2 separate regions of the Homo sapiens genome follow, and region 1 is linked to region 2. The links are contacts of gene promoters, found by promoter capture Hi-C in blood cells and fetal thymus (Javierre and others, 2016). All regions are on one chromosome and are shown on one strand. Each heading gives the region's core, a stretch centred on a gene start or on the middle of the fragment in contact. The rest is flanking DNA. Distances are from core to core; before and after follow the strand shown. Region 1 has its middle 3.4 kb from the start of ZNF180. Region 2 holds the start of ZNF224 (zinc finger protein 224).

Region 1 (4,336 bases), core at 152-2,651, 410 kb before region 2:
TGTAGACCTTGTGATGTTCTACTGCAATGGGTTGGTCAGGCCCTGGCTTCCATAGAATCTTAGATTTTGACTCATATTTTTTTTCAAAGCAATAGTAAGGGTAAAAATGACAGCCCGTGGATCTAGAGTTAGAGGACCAAGGTTTGAGACTGAACAGCTTAGGATATCATAGTTGCAGGCTGAGGATGAGCAAACACTGTTGGTGGACTCCAGAGAGAAGAGTGAGTCTGAGTCAGCCAGAGAGGAGTAGGGGACAAAGACAGGTGTCAGAGAAGAAGTGGCTTTTCAAATCATGATAGAAGATAAGGAACAAGGAGCTCTTAAGAAATTAAGAGCTCTTAATAAAAGGAGAAAACACGTAGTGAAGTGAGGGATTGAGGCTCCTGAGGAGAGGTAGGCATGAAATGCTTAGAATCCTGAGAACTGCAGGGGCGGAGAGAGTCAGAATGAGATTTGCTGAAGGTAAAGAGAGTTAGGAGACAAGGATATCTCCATGGTTTCTTGCCAGGGCAACTGGATGATTGGCAGGTCACTTTCTGAGAAACTTTGGGATAAGGAGAGAAATAAAGAATTTGCTTCATGTCAAGAATTTAGACATGTCAAGAATCAGTTGCAGAATCAAGTAGGCAATTGTTCATAAAAATCTAGACAGATCATGGCTGGAGATACACATTTGAGAGTTGTCAGTGGGACTTAAAGTTATGGGGCTGGATGAGCTCCTCTGTCAGGGGGGTCCCCAAGACCACCTCATGCTCAAAGATTTTCTAGAGGAATTCATAGGACCCAATTGTTATACTCATGGTTATAGTTTATTACAGCAAAAGGATGGAGAATAAAATTAGCAAAGGGAAAAGGTGCATGGGGTGAAGTCTGGAGGATACCCTGCACCAGCTTCCAAGTGTTCTCTTTCAGTGGAGTCACATGGTGTATTAGTCTGCTTTCTTTGGCCTATAACAGAATATCTAAATCTGGGTAATTTGTTTTAAAAAGGAAATTTATTTCTTACAGTTATGGAGGCTTAGAAGTCTAAGGTCTAGGGGTTGCATCTGGTGAGAGCACTTCTTGCTGGTGGGGACTCTCTGTGGAGTCCTGAAGTGGTGCAGGGAATCACATGCCAAGGGGACTGAGTGTGGTAACATGTTAGCTCATGTTTCTCTTTCTTTTCTTATGAAGCTACCAGTTCCACTCCCATGATAACCCGTTAATCCATTAGTCCATGAATGGATTAATCCATTCATGAAGGCAAAACCCTCATGAGCCAATCACCTCTTAAAAACCCCCACCTCTCAATATTGCCACACTGGGGATTAAGTTTCAACATGAGTTTTGGAGGAGACAAATATCCAAACCACAGCACATGGGAAATCCCCCAGCAATGATGTGTGACAACGTGTGTGAAGCATTGCCATCGAGGGAAGCTCACCTAAACCTGGGTGTCCATGGTTTTTATAAAGGGTCAGTCACTGAAGCTCCAGACTCCTAGAAGGAAAGCAGATGTTCCTCCATAAATTACACTGTTAGTATAAACCATCTGGACAAAGTGGTACAGCATGGCTCAAGGCCTCAGGCAAACAAAAGCACTCTTACCAGATAGAACATTATGAGAGCTCAGTTCCCAGAGCTGCCCAAAGGCTAGTCAGGAAAACAGGACCTTCTGGGGAACTTACAGAGTTTGAGCAATAGGCCTGTTATGTCAACCCCAAGCAGAGTGGATGAAGACAAGGCAAGGGACAGGCTGACAGCTGATTCCTGGGTTCCTCTGATGTTTACAGGAGAGATCAAGCAAAGGAGACAAAAAAGGACTGTTAACACAGGGGGAAACCAACACTGAAAACTCCTGGAAATGAAGAGTTTTCAGAATGCGTTGTTGCTATCCTTGGAGCTGAATGGCTATCATAATGATGATAACATTAATTCAGATTTTAAAAATTAATCATTAGATGTGATACAAGAGACCGGAATTAGGATCTTAAGGGTTGCACTCAGTAGTACCAGAAACACCACCCTATTTGAACCCTGAGAACTTTCCTCTTCCCTGCCAAGAAATGTCCCCCTCCCCCTGACATCCTAGAGACAGATCATGCCCTTTTACCCTCTCGTTACTCTTACTTTGTTTTCTAGTATTTATAGTAAATGGATTCATAATCTTCTTGCTCTTCACTGTATCTTGAGCCCTTATCCAATTCATGGCCAATAAACAGAATCTTAATATAAACTTTGGTCTCAGCTCTTCCCGACAGTTGACAGATAAATCTCTAGATTAGATAGGCATCTTTCTAGAATGTTCCTGAGTGGTAACTCTTTAAAATTTTTATTTATTCATTTATTTATTTTGAGACAGGGTCTGGCTCTGTCGCTGAGGCTGGAGTGTAGTAGCATAATCTTGGTTCACTGCAACCTCTGCTTCCTGGGCTCAGGCAATCCTTCCTGCCTCAGCCTCCTGAGTAGCTGGGACTACAGCTTGTGCCACCAGGCCCAGCTAATTTTTGTATTTTTTGTAGAGACGGGGTTTCACCATGTTGCCCAGGCTGGTCTCAAACTCCTGGGCTCAAGTGATCCTCCTGCTCCGGCTTCCCAAAGTGTGGGGATTACAGGCGTGAGCCACTGCGCCCAGCAGTGGTAACTCTTCTAAAGTCCCTGTAATATTCAGGTTAAGTCAGGATTTATAGGTTCCTGGAAGTAAACATTACCACCTTGTTCATTGTGAAAGAAAATAAAAAAGACTAAACAAAAGACAGATAAACAAAGTCAGTTTTACATTACATAGTACTAACGCTTTATTTTCTGAAAATTGTTTTTTTTTTTTGAGATGGAGTCTTGCTCTGTTGCCCAGGATGGAGTGTAGCAACGTGATCTTGGCTCATTGCAGCCTCTGCCTCCCAGGTTCAAGCGATTCTTCTGCCTCAGACTCCTGAGTAGCTGGGATTACAGGCGTGCATCACCATGCCTGTCTAATTTTTGTATTTTTTAAGTAGACACAGAGTTTTGCCATGTTGGCCAGACTGGTCTTGAACTCTTGACCTCATGATTGGCCTGCCTTAGCCTCCCAAAGTACTAGGATTACAGGTGTGAGCCACTGCGCCTGGCCTATTTTCTGAATATCTTAAACAATTAGCAGAAAAATAAATGAAGTGAAAAAAGGAAGACGACCTAACACTCAAAGCATCCCATTCTGATTTTGTCATATTTGTATTTGCAGATCAATCTGCAAGATTTTACATCTTTACAACACACAGCTAGCAACACAGCATTTCTATTTGTCCATTTTTCTCTCTCAGTAAGGTTTTGAGGGTTTCTTCAGATGACATATTTATCTTACTAAATTTACTTATAAGGCTTTTTTTTTTTGCTTTTTTGTGAATACATACGAACTTTTTCTGTTTTGTTTGCAAACTTAGTATTGCTTGCACGTAGAGGAAAGATACTGATGTGTAGACAAGCGGCAACATAATGTAAAAGTTAAGAGCATGGACTCTAGAGTTCAACATCTTGGTCTCAAATGCACAACATAGGTGGAAATACAGATGAAACAAGACTGAGTGAAAATATTTAAGTTGGATGACATAGGTCTTGGGGAGTCATTAATTGAGTCCCTACTTTTGTTTTGAAATTTACAAAATAAAAGGTTAAAAAAATAAGCTACTTACTTCAATGTAGAAACCGATGTCACATTTAACCCTCAAACTTCAGAGATATGTCCATTAAAAGAACACAAACAAGAATGCCTCTTTTAGTAATACTTTTTTGGAAATGGTAGCCAATATAATCCAACATGAAAGAGAATGTCTAATTTAAAATACTGGTAAGGAAAAGATGAAATTGTAGATAACTGTCTCAATAGAAAAGCCAAGAGAGTCAACTGGAGTATTGTAAGAATTAATAACATTGCAGTAGGTTAACCAGATACAAAATAAGTATTTTTTAAAAGATCAACCACAATAACCAATAATAAGAAGCTTTGGGGATAGAGATTACATTTCAAATAGTAATAATTCATTGTTTTTAAAGGTCAGAATTTACGTGAAGAAAACTACAGGAGTGCTTTGACAAGCATTTTAAAAACTAAAAAATTATGTATTTTCATACAGCAGGGCTCCAATTTTCAGCTACCTCCCTGGTAGGATGAAAATTAACACAACTACCTCATAGGCTGATTGGGCTTGGTAATGAAATATTAAAGTGTTTAATACAGAGACAGGAACCTTTATTTAGCCAACGAATATTTATTGAGCATCTATTATGTGCCAGGTCTCTCTCTTTTTTTTTTTTTTAGGTGTTGGGGATGCAGCAGTGATCAACATCGATAAAATGCTTTTCCTTATGGAATTGACATCGT
Region 2 (4,861 bases), core at 115-2,614:
CTGGTCTCGAACTCCTGACCTCGTGATCCGCCCGCCTGGACCTCCCAAAGTGCTGGGATTACAGGCGTAAGCCACCGCGCCAGGCCCATTTTGTTCTTAATAAAGAAAAATAGAATGCTGTACAATGACATGGTTCTATAAGAATACAAAATATTTGTAATGATTGAAACAAAATAGTTGACAACATTTTTAGAAACTCAGAAAATTTCAAGCCCCTAAGTCTTGCTTTCCCCACCTAAGTCCAACTAGTTCCTCTGCCTCAGTGACAACGTATCCCAAGAGAAGATCAAATCAGGCTCTGACCCAGACTGCTTAGGTTCCAACCCCAGCTCCACCTCTCACTAGTCGGGTGCCTATGCGCTCTGTGTCTCACTTTCGTTTTTAAAATAGAAAAAAGCAATACTTCTCCACAGAGCCACGGTGTGGCGTAAATTTATTTGTATAAAGCCCTTAGAATGAAGTTACTAATTAAGACTTAATTATTATCGACCCCCATGCCCGAGGACACAACCTATACACTCTCGGTTGGGGTGAGCATCTCGGTCAAAGAGCCAAGGACCACTCACGTAGAGCTTTGCCCTCAGAAGCCAAGAAGTCCCTCCCTGCAGCTCTTCTGGAAAGGTCGGGTTGGGGAACGAGAAAGCTGTGAAACACCTTGACCGCGTCGCCGTCCCCCATAAAAGTTAAATGCTCCTTTCCCTTCATGAAAGTGGACGCAACCCTCGCTCTCCTAAAAAGAGGTCAGAAGGCTTCCGGGATCATCCAGCGTCCTGCAGGGATCAGGGAGAAGGGCCGAGGCCCCTGCAGCTGGAGCTCTGACCCCACCCGGTCCTTCGTGGGAAATTAACAAGAGACCACCAGTCACCAAGTGACAGGGACTGCTTTAAGGCTCTCATTTGTGTTACCTCTTCCAGTTCCCAAAACGATTCCATTAGGATGGCCCTAAAGTCCCCATTTTAAAGAACAGTAACGGGAAACCCAAGGAGATTAACACCCCAACGTTATATCGAGAAGAAGTGGCCACGCGCGTGGGGTGCAGGGGGCGGAGTGGGCGAGCTCAGAGCCCCGGAAACCCTGAAACCAGGTGAGACGCGACCCAACCAAGTACCAATGCCCCCGGGAAGCGAGGACAGACCCAAGCCCAAGAAGGTGCCACGGACGAGAACGCAAACAGCGGCCCTTGCCCCTCCAAACCTCTACTCTCCGACGAGGCCCCTTTTCCCCTAATTCGATCACCAGTTCTTTGAGGATCCAATGCGTAGGTCCAGGAAATTCAGAAGGGCCTGCAACGCGCGGAACTGCCCCAAACTATCGCGGAAAAACTGCAGCAACCTCAGTCCCCGAGCGGAAGTGTCCGCGACTCCACCGAATGTTTGGACTCCACTTCCCAGAATTCCCCGGGACCCGCCAGCCGGAGCCAAACTGACCGCGACTCCACTGAGCGTCTGGACTACACTTCCCAGAATTCCCTGGGACCCAACTGCCGGAGCTAAACCGACCGCGATTCCACTGAGGGTCTGGACTGTACTCCTGCAGCATTACACTCAAAGGGAAGTGTTGACGACTACTGGGAAGCCCTTGACCACTCTTCCCACGGGGAACGAATCTCGTACCCCCGAGCGCCTGTTGGGAAATGTGGACTTCTACCCTGAGAGTCGTCCTTCCCTCTCCCTGGGTGCCTAAGAGAAAATACCGTATAGAAAGGAATTCCTGAAGTCTAAACCCCTCTAGTGAGGACAGGAGTGTTACTGGAAAGGGAACAAGCGAGATGATACACTCTTCAAATAAGTTTTGCCAGTGGTAAGAAATGGCATGTAGTTTTAATTTATAACTCTTGTAAAGATGGCATATTCTTGCATATTTTCAGGTGTCATTATTACATTTTTTGTAAATTGTCCAGATGTTTTGCCCACTTTCTTATTGAGTTTTTGGTTTTATCCCTCACTTTTCAAGCACTGTTCTTATATTCATGATATTAACATTTTATCTCGCAAATATTTTCTCAACAAAAACGTTTTTTTTTATTGTTTTATCTATGCAAAACATTTTAATGTATTTTATTATTTAAAACATCTCTATTGAGGTGTAATGCACAAAACGTGAAATTCACCATTTTAGGATATATGTAGTACAAATAAAAAGTTAGGAAACATTTTCATCACCCCAAAAACCCCATACCCACTAAGCAGTCACTGTCTAACACTAATCTCTGTCCTATTGAATTACCTATTGTGGACATTTCATATAAATGGAATTATACATTATGGAACCTTTTGTTTCTGACACCTTTCACTTAGCATCCTGCTTCTTTTTTTTTTTTTTGAGACGGAATCTCAAAAAAAGTGCCAGGCTGGAGTGCAGTGGCACGATCTTAGCTCACTGCAACCTCCGCCTCCCGGGTTCAAGCGATTCTCCTGTCTCAGCCTCCCGAGTAGCTGGGACTACAGGCGCGTGCCACCACGCCTGGCTAATTTTTCTGTATTTTTAGTAGAGACGGGGTTTCACCGTGTTAGCCAGGATGGTCTCGATCTCTTGACCTCGTGATCCTCCCGCCTCGGCCTCCCAAAGTGCTGGGATTACAGGCGTGAGCCACCGCGCCCTGCCAGCATACTGCTTTTAAAGTTCATCCACATCACAGCATGTACCAGTACTTCATAATATTTTATGTTTCTACTACGATTTGTTTTTTTTGTTTGCTTTGTCTTGTTTTGTTTTGAGGTGGGGTTTCCCTCTTGATGCCCAGGCTGGAGTGCAATGGCACGATCTCAGCTCACTGCAACCCCCGCCTCCTGGGTTAAAACGATTCTTCTGCCTCAGCCTCCCAAGTAGCTGGCATTACAGCCATGCGCCACCACACCCAGCTAATTTTTTTGTATTTAGTAGAGACAGGGTTTCACCAGGTTAGTCAGGCTGGTCTCGAACTCCTTACCTCAGGTGATCCGCCCACCTCAGCCTCCCAAAGTGCTGGGATTACAGGCTTGCGCCACAATTTGTTTATCCATTCATTGATTGAGGGACATTTGGGTTCTTTCCACCTTTTGGCTGTAGTCAATAGTGTTGCTACAAACAGTGGTGTACAAGTATTTGTTTCATCACCTACTTTCAATTCTTTGGGGTATATACCTAGATATGAAATTTAGTGATTCATATGGTAATTCTATGTTGGGAACCACGAAACAATTTTCCACAGCAACTGCACCATTTTTACATTCCCACCTTCAGTGTGTGAGGGTAGTAATTTCTCCACATCCTCTCCAATACTTATTTTGTATATATGTATGTATAAAATATATATGTATATGTATATGTGTGTGTGTATAAATTGAAAACGGGGTCTCCCTGCGTTGTGCAGGCAGAATTGCAGTGGCTATTCACAGACAACATCTCACTACTGATCAGCATGGGAGTTCTGACCTGCTGTGTTTCCACCCTGGGCCAGTTTACCTCTCCTGAGGCAACCTGGTAGTCCTCTGCTCCTGGGAGATCACCATGTTGATGTCGACTTAGTGTGGACACCCAGTGGGCATAGCTCACTACACCTCAAAACTCCTGGGCTCAAGCGATCCTCCTACTTCAGCCTCCCAAGTAGCTGGGACTGCAGGTGCCTGCCACCACATCGGCTATTTTCTATTTTTAAAGATGATAGCTAACATAGCTGTTGTAAAATGGCATCTCATTATTGGTTTGATTTGCATTTTCCTAATGACTAATAGTTGAGCATCTTTTCACATAATTGTTGGTAACTTGTATATCTGAAATTTCTATTTGTATCTTTGCCCATTAGAAAATTGGGTGGTTTCTCCTCTTGTTATTGAGTTGTAAGAGTTCTTTCTTTCTTTTCTTTTTAAGAAACAGAGTCTCTCTTTGTTGCCCAGGCTGGAGTGCAATGGTACATCACGCCCCACTGCAGCCTTGACCTCCCAGGCTCAAACAATCCTTCTGCCTCAGCCTCCTGAGTAGCTGGGACCACAGGCATGGGTCACTATGCCTGGCTACCTTTGTTTTTTGTTGTTGTTTTTTGTTTGTTTGTTTGTTTCTTGTAGAGACATGGTTTTCGCCATGTTGCCCAGGCAGGCCTCAAACTCCTGGGCTCAAGTGATCCACCCATCTCAGCCTTCCAAAGTGCTGGGATTATAGGTGAGAGCCACCTCACCTGGTCTAAGAGTTCTTTATATATTCTGATACTAGAAGAATTCATGCTCTTGACAATGTCTCTGTATGCATAGCATTTTTTTTTTTGCTCTAGTCCAATTTATGTGGGGTTTTTTTAGCTTGTGCATATGGTGTCTTATCTAAGAATCCATTCCAAATAAAAAGTCTTGAAGATTAACCTTTATGTTTTATTCTAAGAGTTGTATAGCTTAACCTCTTATATTTAGGTCATTGATCATTTTGAGTTAATTTTTAAGTATAGTGTGAAGTGCGGATCTAACTTCATTATGTTGCATATGTATATATATTTGCCCAGCATTATTTGCTGAAGAGACTATGCTTTCTCCATTAAGCAATCTTGGATCCTTCTTGAAAATCAAGTGACTTTAGATGTATGAGTTTCTTTATGGACTCTAAATTCTATTCCATTACTATAGCTTGGTAGTAAGTTTCGAAATGAAGTGGGAGCCATCCATCATGTTCCTTTAAAAAAGAAAGATTTTGTCTATTTGCCTCCATTACAATTACATATGAATTTATGAATTGATTTCTGCAAAAAAAAAAAAGGCTGTTTGGATTTTGATAGTGATTGCAGTAAAACTGTAGATTGGTTTGGGTAGTACTGTCATCACAAAAATGTGAAGTCTTCCAATCCATGAATGCCTAGACAATAAGCGAATTCAGCATGATCATAGGATACATGATCAGG

What was found. Contacts are between HindIII fragments. The CHiCAGO score rates a contact against its expected background, and 5 or more counts as called.
Region 1: a contact is called between a fragment that was not itself captured here and the fragment with the promoter of ZNF224 in region 2, in 1 of 17 cell types (monocytes). The highest score is 5.1, in monocytes.

The regions. Positions count from the first base shown.
Region 1 is chr19:44,501,717-44,506,052 of GRCh38, reverse strand. No RefSeq gene overlaps it. Among named protein-coding and RNA genes, the nearest start is that of ZNF180, 3.4 kb to the right of the region's middle. The HindIII fragment of the contact is 5,114 bases long and covers 1-3,958 here.
Region 2 is chr19:44,090,864-44,095,724 of GRCh38, reverse strand. ZNF224 (zinc finger protein 224) reads right to left here and starts at 1,364. Exons shown (of 6, transcript NM_001321645.3): 1 at 1,195-1,364. RefSeq lists an enhancer at 1,445-1,554. The HindIII fragment of the contact is 10,144 bases long and covers 1-4,861 here.